Linked DNA regions of Homo sapiens: regions 2, 3 and 4 are each linked to region 1. Evidence: promoter capture Hi-C in 16 types of primary human blood cells and fetal thymus (Javierre and others, 2016). All regions are on one chromosome and are shown on one strand. The core of a region is centred on a gene start or on the middle of the fragment in contact, and the rest is flanking DNA. Distances in the headings are between cores, read along the strand shown. Region 1 holds the start of F3 (coagulation factor III, tissue factor). Region 2 overlaps SLC44A3-AS1 (SLC44A3 antisense RNA 1). Region 3 overlaps SLC44A3-AS1 (SLC44A3 antisense RNA 1). Region 4 overlaps SLC44A3-AS1 (SLC44A3 antisense RNA 1).

Region 1 (3,527 bases), core at 668-3,167:
CAATTAGATCAGTCAGGGAAAAACACTTCGCAATGAAATATTATTTACCACGTTTTCTTCCTCCCTCTTCTTGAAAATAGTAATGATTTTAGCATTTTTAAATCTTGAAGAATGTCATTCCGTACTGACTAAAAAGCCTGTGCAAACACCCAACATCTTCTCTTTCCTGTCTATTTTAATGGATATACAAAATAAATATTCATCTAATTTATCAATATTTAAGGCACATTGTGTATCACAATCCAATGGTAAACATTTTTCTTATCAAATGGCTGATCTTGACATTGTTTAAAGCCCTATATGATTTCAGAAAAGTCAGTGACTCCAAGTGGAATTGCAACAATTTCTTGGGTCTTGTAACAAACCTGAAGTGTAACTATTTCTCTTCAGCTACCTTCAATCCCAGAGAGCAAAGAATCACATCCCAGGTGGAGCTGAAGATCTCTTAGGGAAAATGACTCAGGCTAGAGCCTGCATAAAAAGAGGATTGCATGGCTTAGTTTTGCAAACATAAATTTTGTGGGTTTCAGAGCTGGCAGAGAGCTCAAAGAGGAAATCATCAAGGGCAACTTTCTGCTTCGAGGAAGGAAAGTCTACAAGGGCTAAACCTGGATGTGCTATTTCAGTTCAGGCAAAGGAGGAAAATTAAAATTTTGCACAGTTTTATTCTGTTAAAACAAGTGGTTCAGTAAGCTAAACGAGATATGTATATAGTATGCATTAAAATGCAAGACTGACTTCCCTGGGAAAACGTGGGAAAGAAGGAGAGAGGAAACAAACAATTCTTACACTAAGAATTCTCCAGTCGTGTCTTGCAGGCAATATAGAGTAATAATAATAAAAATGACAGGAGATACTTTGACAGGATGGCTTAAAATGCCACTCAATAGATGAAGAGTTGTTCTCATGCTTGGCAAGTTTACAGCAAAGCCCAGAAGGAGAAGCCAGAAAATAATTTAGAAAAACCAAAGCTTAAAACTAGTGGCACACAACTCTGGTTACATTTTTCATTTTCATTTTTGGTTCCTCTGCATTTCGGTGGAACTCAGTCCCACAGATGTCTTCTTCAATGTGGGAACCATCCTTTCTGGAACCACAGAGCTGCAGATGTCACGCTGGAATTCTCCCAGAGGCAAACTGCCAGATGTGAGGCTGCTCTTCCTCAGTCACTATCTCTGGTCGTACCGGGCGATGCCTGAGCCAACTGACCCTCAGACCTGTGAGCCGAGCCGGTCACACCGTGGCTGACACCGGCATTCCCACCGCCTTTCTCCTGTGCGACCCGCTAAGGGCCCCGCGAGGTGGGCAGGCCAGGTATTCTTGACCTTCGTGGGGTAGAAGAAGCCACCGTGGCTGGGAGAGGGCCCTGCTCACAGCCACACGTTTACTTCGCTGCAGGTCCCGAGCTTCTGCCCCAGGTGGGCAAAGCATCCGGGAAATGCCCTCCGCTGCCCGAGGGGAGCCCAGAGCCCGTGCTTTCTATTAAATGTTGTAAATGCCGCCTCTCCCACTTTATCACCAAATGGAAGGGAAGAATTCTTCCAAGGCGCCCTCCCTTTCCTGCCATAGACCTGCAACCCACCTAAGCTGCACGTCGGAGTCGCGGGCCTGGGTGAATCCGGGGGCCTTGGGGGACCCGGGCAACTAGACCCGCCTGCGTCCTCCAGGGCAGCTCCGCGCTCGGTGGCGCGGTTGAATCACTGGGGTGAGTCATCCCTTGCAGGGTCCCGGAGTTTCCTACCGGGAGGAGGCGGGGCAGGGGTGTGGACTCGCCGGGGGCCGCCCACCGCGACGGCAAGTGACCCGGGCCGGGGGCGGGGAGTCGGGAGGAGCGGCGGGGGCGGGCGCCGGGGGCGGGCAGAGGCGCGGGAGAGCGCGCCGCCGGCCCTTTATAGCGCGCGGGGCACCGGCTCCCCAAGACTGCGAGCTCCCCGCACCCCCTCGCACTCCCTCTGGCCGGCCCAGGGCGCCTTCAGCCCAACCTCCCCAGCCCCACGGGCGCCACGGAACCCGCTCGATCTCGCCGCCAACTGGTAGACATGGAGACCCCTGCCTGGCCCCGGGTCCCGCGCCCCGAGACCGCCGTCGCTCGGACGCTCCTGCTCGGCTGGGTCTTCGCCCAGGTGGCCGGCGCTTCAGGTGAGTGGCACCAGCCCCTGGAAGCCCGGGGCGCGCCACACGCAGGAGGGAGGCGACAGTCCTGGCTGGCAGCGGGCTCGCCCTGGTTCCCCGGGGCGCCCATGTTGTCCCCCGCGCCTACGGGACTCGGCTGCGCTCACCCAGCCCGGCTTGAATGAACCGAGTCCGTCGGGCGCCGGCGGGAGTTGCAGGGAGGGAGTTGGCGCCCCAGACCCCGCTGCCCCTTCCGCTGGAGAGTTTTGCTCGGGGTGTCCGAGTAATTGGACTGTTGTTGCATAAGCGGACTTTTAGCTCCCGCTTTAACTCTGGGGAAAGGGCTTCCCAGTGAGTTGCGACCTTCAATATGATAGGACTTGTGCCTGCGTCTGCACGTGTTGGCGTGCAGAGGTTTGGATATTATCTTTCATTATATGTGCATCTTCCCTTAATAAAGAGCGTCCCTGGTCTTTTCCTGGCCATCTTTGTTCTAGGTTTGGGTAGAGGCAATCCAAAAGGGCTGGATTGCTGCTTAGATTGGAGCAGGTACAACGTTGTGCATGCCCCGTATTTCTACGAGGTGTTCGGGACGGCGTAGAGACTGGGACCTGCTGCGTACTGGCAAAGCAGACCTTCATAAGAAATAATCCTGATCCAATACAGCCGACGGTGTGACAGGCCACACGTCCCCGTGGGTCTCTGTGGAAGTTTCAGTGTAGCGACATTTCAGATAAAAGTGGAAAAAGTGAAGTTTGGCTTTTTTCATTTGTATGCAGTCCTAACTCTTGTCACACGTGTGGGATTTATCTTTTTCCATAACTTACTGAAAACCCTTCCTGGCGGGCTGAACCTGACTCTTCCTGAGCTGAGTCCTGGACTGGCACACTGATGGCTCTGGGCTCTTCCCGGTCAAGTTATAACAAGGCTTTGCCCATGAATAATTTCAAACGAAAATGTCAAGATCCTTGCCGGTGTCCTGGGATTACAAGGTGAATCTTGTCATGAAGAAATTCTAGGTCTAGAAAAAATTTGAAGATTCTTTTTCTCTTGATAATTCACTAATGAAGCTTTTGTGGTTGAAAAATAAAAAGTGAGGTTTATGGTGATGTCAGGTGGGAAGGTGTTTTATACATCAATACATTCGAGTGCTCTGAAGTGCATGTAATAATAGCTGTTTCTCTGTTGTTTAAAGGCACTACAAATACTGTGGCAGCATATAATTTAACTTGGAAATCAACTAATTTCAAGACAATTTTGGAGTGGGAACCCAAACCCGTCAATCAAGTCTACACTGTTCAAATAAGGTAAGCTGGGTACAGAAAAAGAAAATTAAGGTCTTTGATGTTTCTACTGTCCTATGCTGAACAAGAATGTCTTTAAAGCTGATTACTGGATGAAATTATTTAACAGAT
Region 2 (3,411 bases), core at 416-2,915, 180 kb before region 1:
TGGTCATTACATGCAGTGATATGCTGGCAAATGTTTCACAATGGGCCCACCCGTTCCACCCTGTGTTAGAGTGCTTGCAGTTTCTGTAGTATAGATGCTTCCAGCTTGGCTGACTTCAGGCTATATGGCATCACTGAATGGGGAGCTGGGAAGAGATTTACTTGATTGTGCTCCAGCACACCTCTAAATTGATGTGCAAGGGCGGAGAATCATGAACAACCTGGTGTGTGGATAAGATCTGCTGCAGCCCAGGAAACAAGCAGGTGAGGGACCATGGGCGGGGGTGGGGATGAGGCTGGAGAGGAGCTAGAGAATACCAAGGGCAAGGCTGTGGTTGATTGGCTGGAGCTGCACTGTCCCGTGTGTAGCCACACATTGCTCCTCAGTGACTGAAATGTGACTGGTCCAAAGTGCAATGTGCTGTGAGGGTAAAGTAGACACCAGAGATTGAAGACTTACTATGAAAAAAGGAATGCAAACTATATCATTAATGCTTTTTAATATTCCTTATGTTAATAAAATTTATAGATGTCATTGGTTTGGACTGAGCAGGAGCACTAGGCCCAGCAGACCAAACCAAAGTGGAGTTATGCGTGCTGAAGTTCCACCCTATCAAGCCAAAAGTAAATTGTTTATCTGACCTTCTGAGAAATCAAGAGAGAGACAGATAATAGCCTAATCCCCAAAAGAGTCAGTTTTAGCCAGCATGATGAGGAAAGTGCCCTCTGCTTTTACCTTTACAAGGAAAGCAGCTTTGAAACAACCACTCTGATTTTTCATTCTGTTTCTGCTTTCTTCAGCCCTTTTCTGTCTATAAAATCTGCTCAGCCCATTGGAACACTTATTCTGTTTTATAAAATAAGATGTTGCCTCATTCTAGAATCACAAATAAAATCCAACTAAGATCATTAAACTAAATTTGTTGTTATTTTGTCTTTTGACAATTACATGTTAAGATAATATTTTGGATATATTGGGTTAATCATGTATGTTATTACAATTACCTTATTTTGTTTTACTTTTTTAATGTGACTACTAGAAAATTTTAAATTATGTATGTGGCTTGCATTGTATTTCTTTTGAACATCTCTGGGCCAGAGAATTTGGACTTCTTTAGCAGGCAGCAGAGAGTCTCAGAAGAGTTTTAAATGGATGTGGTCTGCTTCCAGTAAAGATCATCCTGGTTCCTTGTGGAGTTTGCTGAACCAGGCCAGAGGAGGGAAACTGTTGAGAGTCCAGGCCAGAGGGATGTGGGACTGAATTAAAGGCAGTGGAGTTGGGGATGAAGAAGGAGAAAGCAGAATGGAAGGTGGACAGAGACGGATCGAGGATGGTGCCCAGGTTTCTGGCTTGGGCCACTGTCTAGCTGGGAGTGGTAATAACAGGGATTAAAGTACAGGAGGGATGAATATTTCTAGGGGAAAGGTAATGAGTTCAGTTTCTGATATGATGAGTCTGAGGTGTGAGGGGAACATGCAGGTGTCCAACAGGCAGCCGAGCCCAGGAGGCTAGAAGCCTATGGGTTCCATCTTGAAAACGTATTTCAAATAAACCACTTCCTACCATTTCTATGGCTACTACCCAAGCTCCAGCCACCATAATCTCTTATCTGAAGAATTGCCATAGCAGTTGTTCAGATTGCTGGTCTCCATGCTGATGCATTTGCCATGTCTCTCAGTGTGGCAGCCTGAGGAATCTTGTCAAAAGCCACATCAGCACGTCATGCCTCCCCTTGTAATCTTCCGATGAATCACATCACACTCAGGGTTCATGCCACTCTGTACAGAGACCTAAGGCCCTATGCAACCTGGCTCCTCCTACTCTTTGAGTTCCCATTACTGAGGGAGACTCAGTGCCTCTGCTCCAAAGGCATTGGTCTCCTCACAATTCCTAGAACTTGTCAGGAACTCTCCTACCGCAGAGCCTTGGCACCTGGTACCCTAGCTCCAAAGCCCTTTGCTTAGATTAAGTTGACTCCCTCACCCCCTTCAGGGCTTTACCCAACGATCCCCTCTTTGTGAAGCCTCCCTGTTCATTCATCTAAAATGACACCCCTTACTCTTTCCTTCCCTTCTTTATCTTTTTATTAGCTCTCACCACTATTCATCATACATGTTACTTATCATGTTTAATGTTTGTCTCTCTCACTAGAATGTTAGCTCTATACATCAAAGATTTTGTCTGTTTTATTTTCCGTTGCAACTCCTGTGTCTAATAGTAGGTACTGGATTAATATTTGTTAAATGAACAGATGAATGACAGCATATCAGTGGGTAAGCACATAGATCCTAGAAACAGACCTGCTATTGACATACATCCCAGCTCTGCCACTCATCATTGTGACTGTGGGCCGATTATTTAACATCTCCGAGTCTTCATTTTCTCATCTATGAGATGGAGAGATTAATAGTAACTTCCACAAAAGATTATTGTGAAGACTCATTTATTCAGTACATGTGGAACCCCTAACAAGTGCCATGAGGTGTGCTTAACCGGGATTAAATAAGATATTGTAGACTTTGATGCTGGGTCTGCTACATTGTAAGCCCTCAGTAAATGCTTACATTCACTCAGTAAATGCTTACGAAGTTCACGTGTTGAAAACGTAATTCCCAGTGCAACAGTGTTGGGAGGTGGGGCCTTTGAGAGGTGATTAATGAATGAATTAATGTTGTTAATGGATAGATTAATGGGTCCTCATAAATGATTAATCACATCATCAATAACAAATCTCATGCATTTGTTATTGCAAGAGAGGAAGTGTTATAAAAGTGAGTCCGGTCTTGTGTGCTCTTGCCCTTTCCTCTTTCATCATGGGAGGATGCAGCAAAAAGGCCCTCACCAGACAAGGGCCCCTCGACCTTAGACTTCCGAGCCTCCAGAACTATAAGAAATAAACTTTTTAATTTATAAATTTAGCCAGGTATGGTGGTGCATGCTTGTAGTCCCAACTACTCGGGAGGCTGAGGCAGGAGGATCCCTTGAACCCAGGAGGTGGAGGCTGCAGTGAGATGAGATCATGCCACTGCACTCCAGCCTGGATGAGAGTGAGACTCTGTCTCAAAAAAAGTAAAATAAAATAAAATAAAATGAATAAATTACCCAGTCTGTGGTATTCTGTTACAGCAACACGAAACAAACTAAGACACTGAGTATTAGCACGAGGAGGAGGAAGAGGAAGGGTATCTGGCAGTCAGGAGAGGGGGCTGGTGTGAGCTGCCAATTTGGAATGAGCAGCACTGAAAGAAGGGTAGCTGGCCCAGGGAGAGCAAGCAGAATGGGCAGCGAGAAGTGTGGACTGTGCCGACTCTGCAGGGATGAGGCCATGACGGGGAGCTGGGAAGCAAGCTGGACTTTCAAGCCTGGTTAGGGAGTGGAAGGGGAATTCTGGTGTCATCATCAGCATATGAA
Region 3 (3,383 bases), core at 876-3,375, 160 kb before region 1:
AGATTCTCATTATAATACAATCCCTTGCTGTCTGGAAGAAATAAGTCAGTCTAGAAACATTTACAGAACAGCTGCTATATGCAGGGGTTTTTTTTAGGTCTCATGGGGTGTTCAAGAATGTTGATTCCAAAGTCTCACTCCTCCAGGGGTGTCCCGTAGTCAAGAGGTTGATGCTGATGCCTGTGGAAAGAGCGGCTGAAGATGGCTTCTCAGGCTTTCATCTTGACCTCCTCCTCTTACTTCACACTCGCCCTGGGCTCCAGCCTCAGCACCCAAGACGTCAACCACCTCCCACCAGGCTTGCGATGCCAAATCTTTATCTCTAGCCTGACTCCCAGCACCTTCCAGTCGTCTGCCTAGAGTGGAGGCTGGCTGGCTCCAGTTCCCTTTCCAACAGCAGCCAGGGTGGCCTGCCTCAAACGCACACATCTGGCCACAGCACTCGCCCACGCCCGCGTAGGAGCTGGCCCTGGTCACCGTCATCCACGTCAGAGATCACAAACATTTGGAAATGTAACTTGTTTTTCAAATAAATGTTATATTCAAAACCAATAGAAGAAACAGATGAAAAGTTATCTTATTGGTAGATATGTACTTTATAGGCACACATTGTTATAAAGCCAGTCACTCTGAACAATGTGAGTATTTTAAGAAGTGTAAACATTTGACATTCATGGTCATGGGTACAGTTGCAGTTTTATGTCAGCCTTGGTATTCAATTTATTCCTGCATTTGTTTCTATTGTCCAATGTTGAGAAAGTTCAATTCACAGAAGTAAGTCATAAAATTGTTTTGCTTTACTTTATTTTTAATTTTTAAACAGCTTGCCTTGAAATCTCAGGATGCGCTCAATTAAACAGACCCAATACCTTAAATGTGGAGTAGGAGGAAAATTTGATTCTAAGTTGAATCATTAACAATATCTAAGTGCTTTTACTCCCTGTGTTAAATGTAAAAGTCAAATCAAAAGCAACCCAGCCTCAGGACAGGTGCTCGTGTGATATGATCCTGACTGCACAACTCACCATTATGCAGTGGGAGGGATCGTGATCACCTAGGTTTTGCCTGTGTGAATTTGGTTGAGTGTGACTCAGTTTACCATAGTAGTATGCTTGTACAAATTGAGAGGACATGCATGGACCTGGATTTTAAGAAATCACCTATATAGAGCTACAATCTTACTAATCAGTGACACCTCTGTTAAACATTCAAAGTTATGAATGAAACTAGCAGAAAAGATAAATTTTTCAGACTATCTCAAAGAGAATTTTCCTGGCAACATGAGTTAATACGTTGGTGGTCTCCAACATGTTACAATGTTTTGATACAAAGCGCATGTGACTATGTTGTTGTAAAATCACAGTTGATTTTTTAAATGATTTAAAGTACATATTTTGGGTAGCTTTTAAAAAAGTATTTATTTAATTTTAACAGGATTTATTGGTTTTCTTTGATTGCCTCTGGTCAAGCTTTGGAAGTTATTTTATTTTTTTAAATAGAAAATTCATGGAAATGGTGCAAAAGCCAAAAGGTGAAAACAACAAAAAAAGTATATTTTGTGACAAATAAGTCTCCTCCCTCAGCCCTGTTCCCAAGAAATGTTTTTCTTCCCAGACGCCACACCACATTTATCAGTTTCTTTGAATCCTACCAGAGATAGTCTATGCCTCTGTGTGTGTGTGTGTGTGTGTGTGTGTGTGTGTGTGTGTGTCTTAGCTTGGGTTGCCCCAGGAACAGACTTTGACACAGGATTTAAATGCAAGCAGCTCATCTAAGAGGTGCTCTCAGGAAACACCTTGCAGGAAGGTGAGGACAAAAGATGGGAAAGGGAAGGTAGCCAGTGGAGGAAAATTGATCAAGTAAATTACCGCTGTGGACAACCAGAGCTAACCCCACTGGGGAGCTCTGAGAGCCAGCATAGGACCTGTGGCTCAGAGTTATTTCTCCCAAGGGGAAATGGAGCTGGAATTTTATAACCAACTCCGTTGTCTGAGAGCTGTGGGGTGTGGGCAACCGGCCATGTGGTCAGGCACAGTGGACTCTGTCTGTCAAAGAAAACTCAGTCAAAGCAATGCAAGGGCTGGCAGTTTGAAGTGGGCTAGTGTGTAATGCAATGTCAAGGAGCAGGAAGTATGGGCAGGGTACAAACAGCATCTGCTACAATATTATCTGAAACACATTTTAATGAAATTAGCACCAAACATGTGCAGTAACTCATGGCCTAGCCCCATGAATGCCAGGCTTCCATAGAGACTGGTCTGAAGACCGTTGTCATTTTTGGCATGGCAAACAAAACCTTCTGGGGTTGATTCTTTTGGTTACTTCTGGTTCCTTTTCCATTTTGATCTCAGTCAAGTTTTTGCCCCAGTAATACAAATGACTTGTGCTTGCAGGTCCCCAGACAGTCCCGGTGTGCACACTTCCCTGCTTCTGTTCATGATGTTCTCTGAACCTGGGATCACCTTTCCCCTTCCTCTTACCTGCCCGATCCTACTTGTCCTCCCAGATTCAGGTGAGTTGGAAAGAATAAAACTGGCCTTATGGAGTTGTAGAAGCCTCAGTGAGAGGATGTGTATAATATTCAGCATGGTGTTTGGCACAAAACTCAGTAGTGGTCATCTGCCTGCCTGTCCATCTCCCCATCTGTCTGATAACTTGGGAGCCCACCCCAATGTTCCCAGACTATACCGGGATTCCTCTCTTCTGTGCCATCCTAGCACCCTAGGCACACCCATAGGAATGATCTGCTTGTCTGTCTCCCCCGATTGTGCCGGAAGCTTCTTTGGGACAGGAAGCAGACTTTGCTAATCTCTGAACCCCCATTGCTGGTACAGTGCCCAACACACAGTATGGCTTAGTGAATGCCTGGATAGAATTCAACTGAGTGCACCACACAGTAACAATTCTTTGAGGTGTTTGTGCAAATTCTGAAGAAGGAAAAATCACTGCACATAGGGTGGCTCATGAAGGTGTTTTTAGATGGGCCTCTATAAGAGACACACATATAAAGATTGCTTCCTTCTTCCTATTAGAAGAGCGAGCCTTGTTGACCTATGACTTTTTTGCATGCTAGATTGCATGCAAGATTGTTTTGCTCGTTACTTTCTCTCTCTCTCTCTTTCTCTCTCTCTCTCTTTCTTTTTAATGGATAGTCAGTCCACAAATATTTTCTGAGTCCCTACTATATATTGGACACTACTCTAGGGGATGGGGATACAGTGGTGCACATGACAGAAGGAGATCCTGCCTCAAGGAGCTTCCACTTTCTTGGAAAGTACAGAGTGGAATGTTCATTTGGACTGGCCTGCTGCTGCCAGGAGGATCTGAAGAATCTGGAACAAGTGGGGCTTCTCAGGGCCTGGCTGATGGATACATCAGACAGT
Region 4 (3,378 bases), core at 338-2,837, 220 kb before region 1:
GGGTTAATCTAATCTTGCAATGAGATTCTTCTGCATCAGGTAAAGTTACTCTTATTCTTCAATGATACCTCTTCAAAGAGTCTTTCCAGATTCATGTAGGGAGGGATCTTTTTTTCTCCTTCTTGGTAGCTGCTCACTGCTTTTTGTGCATGCCAGTATGATAGCACTTGTCGTGTGGCACTGTGATTTTTTATTTGTTCAAAAGGCTCTATCAGGCAAGAGCTATGGGCTTTGAGGTGCATCACTTGACTTCCCTGAAACACAAACTGGTAGAATAACAGTTCATCCCTCTTAGGGGTATTGCAAGAATTAAATTAAATGAGCTGTTGCATGAAAAGCACTTAGCATAATACCTGGCTTATAGTGGGAGCCCAGTAAATATTGGCAGTTAGCATTTTAGTGTTTATTCTCATTAAAATAATAATGATTATAATAATTATCATTGCTATGTCCTCTACTAGGTGGAGAAGTGCTTGAGGGCAGGGACTGTTCTGAGATCATAGTAGGTACTCTGTGGAAAAAAAGGAGGGAGGAGGGAAATAAAAAATGGAAACAACAAAGAGGGCAGCAATACCAGGTTTGCCCAGAAGTGACAACTCTAGGTAGCCAGAAATAGCCTCTCCAGCTAGAAGGGATCTCATGACCTTTTGTTTTATAGAAAAGGAAATGTAGGGGCCAAGAAAGGTTAAGGAGCATGTTTAGGATCACAGTGTTGGCAGCAGTGGCCTGGAATCCAGGCTCTCTCCTGGGGTTAACCTTCATAGCCCCTGCTTTATTGGCATCTCCACCTTCCTTAGTAAATGCCCATGTATCCATATGGCTTGATAAACCTTGGCTGATGTCTGCCACTGAGAGAATAGGGCATTTCCTATCTATCCCCAGATGGAGACTGAGGAGAACATGGATATTTGATGGGAATGTAATGTATTCGTTATCTTTTCAGTGTCTTTCTTGTAAAACCCAAAAGGCAGCCATTAAAAAATAATATGATCCTGGTCTTAATCCAGCAGGCTCCAAGCAGCCTCAGCCATTATGAGAGTTACTGACTCTAATTGCAAATTATGAGGCAGTTAAAGAAATATAGCATATGTCCTTCTTTAATATAGGTTTGAACCTTCTTTAATATAGGATTGAACTGAACTGTCTACAAGGATTACTGTCTTCCTTGGGAAATAGGCAAGCACTGAGCTGACACAGGAGCCAAAACAAGGTCTCTGGAACGTATACTGGCAGGAATATCAGAAAGGAAACCCATTCCTGTGTTTGAGTGGATGGGACTCCTCAGAAGTGAGAGAAAATTAATACTGAGATTGACAGAGTGCTTGAAAGGGGAGGTGAGAATGAACTAAATGTAAGAAAGCCAGGTTGGGTATAAAACTGTCTGTAACTGAATATACTTCATCACAAGCATCATGATCTCATGTGTGTATTATGGGTTACATTATACCTTAGGTACAGTCATTTGCCCAAATTGGGAATTTGCACCCTAGGGTGGAGAGCCAGCATTCGAATTAGGAAAACTGTACTCCAGAAGCAGCTACTACAAGAGCTCCCATGACCTTTATCTATGATCAATGGTAGAGGCTCTGCTAACTGGCATACTTAATGTTAGAAATAGGTTTCCGTTGATGAAATCCGTGGCTTCTTAGCATAGTGGATGCTCCAAACAGAAATTCATTCGTGAACTTACTAGTGGTAAAGATAAGTGAATTGTCTCAAGTATTTTAGAGTAGCTTCCTGCTTTTGATTAAAAAGAGTATAAACATCTAGCCAGTCCTGTAGCTCTTAGTGATGCAATCCTGGATCAAGATTTGGATTCAGAAGTTACTAGTTTCTTGATGTCAACTATGCAGATTAATTGAATTCTGTATCCAAAATATTGTTGTATTTACCTGAAAAGATGATGTGCTATCAGGAGCTAAAGAAGCCATGCTTTAACTATGAAGGGATAAACCCAAGGACAATATGCAAAGTATGTTATTTATCCAATGCTCTCTGACAAATTACTCCAAAATGTAGTGGCTTAAAACAACAATAATAATAATCTCCCATGATTTCTGTGAGTCAGGAATTTGAGAGCAGTTCTGGCTTGGAGATTTCTCATGAAGTTACAATCACATGTTGGCTGGAGCTGTAACTATCTGAAGGCTTGACTGGGGCTGAAGGACTCACTTCCAAGATAGCTAACTCCATGGCAGACAAGCTGATGCTCCCCGTTGGAGGGAGGCCTTAGCTTTTCTCTATGTTGGCTTCTCCATGTGTCCTGGATTTCCTCACAACATGGTGGTTGAGTTCCAGAGGCAAGCATCTGAAAACAGAGAGCCAGGTGGAAGCTGTATCCTTTCTGTGATCTACCCTCAAGAGTCACATAGCATCACTTCTGCCCCACTCCATTGACTGGGACAGTCACAATCCCCTGCCTAGATTTGAGAAGAGAGAACACAGACCCTTCCCTTAATGGGAGGAGTGTCAGTTGCCAGTCACATTGTGTGAAAATTATGTGCGATGAGATAAATATGTAGGTGTGGCATTTTTTGAGAAATACAACATGCTACAATAAGTAAGGATGGCAATGAGAAAAGGTAAGAAAACAAAAACAAAAAACCCACCTAGGGCCTTGATACCATCACTGGGCTACTGAAGTAATCAACCATGAAAACACCTACCTCAGAATATCTTGTTTTGTAAGATAGTACTTTATCTTCATTATTTTATTTGGGTATTCTATTATTATAGCTGAAAATATTTTAATGGATATTACTTGGTAGAAAAGCTAGAGCAAAAGACCTGGATTCAAATTCTCCCATGGCTCCCTAGATGATATTACTTCAACTAAAGTATTTATTCCCATTCATGTATTCAACAAATGTTTATAAATGAACTTCAATGTGCCAACAAGGTACTGTTTAAGACAGTAAGAATGCAACAGTGAGTAAAACCGGCAGAGATCCCTGTCCTCATGTAGCTAACAATTGACTATGTGTTCTGTGGGACTGTCTGTGTGTGAGGGAGGTGGTGGTATGGAGTGGCAAGAAATAAACCAGGTAAATAATTAAGATGATGTTGAGTGGTGAGGAGTGCTATGGAGGAAGATAAAGCAGGACAGGGTGACAGTGTGACTAGGGAGGTCCTCATGCACAAGGTGACATTTGAGTAAGGACTTGAAGGAGACCCAGTGTGTATTAGGAACACTTCTAGTGGGACCTAAGGGAGTCAGTGAGGGGAAGGATAGTAGGAAGTGAGGACAGACGTTTTAGGAGATGGGAGCAAATTGTATAGTGAAATGGGAAGCTGTTGAGCTTTTGATTAGAGGGTTATGTAATCTGACTTACTTTTTTTTCTTTTTTTAAATTATACTTTAAGTTCTAGGGTACATGT

The links. The method cuts DNA at HindIII sites, captures the fragments that hold promoters and counts their contacts. A CHiCAGO score of 5 or more calls a contact.
Region 2: a contact is called between a fragment that was not itself captured here and the fragment with the promoter of F3 in region 1, in 6 of 17 cell types (M2 macrophages, M0 macrophages, M1 macrophages and 3 more). The highest score is 27.6, in M2 macrophages.
Region 3: a contact is called between a fragment that was not itself captured here and the fragment with the promoter of F3 in region 1, in 5 of 17 cell types (M1 macrophages, M0 macrophages, M2 macrophages and 2 more). The highest score is 10.7, in M1 macrophages.
Region 4: a fragment that was not itself captured here is called in contact with the fragment with the promoter of F3 in region 1 in 4 of 17 cell types (M1 macrophages, M2 macrophages, monocytes and 1 more); the score reaches 11.5 in M1 macrophages.

What each region holds. Positions count from the first base shown.
Region 1 is chr1:94,540,149-94,543,675 of GRCh38, reverse strand. F3 (coagulation factor III, tissue factor) reads left to right here and starts at 1,917. Exons shown (of 6, transcript NM_001993.5): 1 at 1,917-2,139; 2 at 3,308-3,419. The coding sequence starts at 2,040. It overlaps LOC124904223 (a long non-coding RNA gene), which reads right to left and starts at 1,702. Exons shown (of 2, transcript XR_007066234.1): 1 at 1-1,702. RefSeq lists a silencer at 1,718-1,997. The HindIII fragment of the contact is 2,211 bases long and covers 974-3,184 here.
Region 2 is chr1:94,724,108-94,727,518 of GRCh38, reverse strand. All of the region lies in intron 2 of SLC44A3-AS1 (SLC44A3 antisense RNA 1), which reads left to right. Among named protein-coding and RNA genes, the nearest start is that of MIR378G, 20 kb to the left of the region's middle. The HindIII fragment of the contact is 8,686 bases long and covers 1-3,411 here.
Region 3 is chr1:94,704,568-94,707,950 of GRCh38, reverse strand. The region is part of intron 2 of SLC44A3-AS1 (SLC44A3 antisense RNA 1); the gene reads left to right. Among named protein-coding and RNA genes, the nearest start is that of MIR378G, 40 kb to the left of the region's middle. The HindIII fragment of the contact is 1,308 bases long and covers 1,472-2,779 here.
Region 4 is chr1:94,764,572-94,767,949 of GRCh38, reverse strand. All of the region lies in intron 1 of SLC44A3-AS1 (SLC44A3 antisense RNA 1), which reads left to right. Among named protein-coding and RNA genes, the nearest start is that of MIR378G, 20 kb to the right of the region's middle. The HindIII fragment of the contact is 9,408 bases long and covers 1-3,378 here.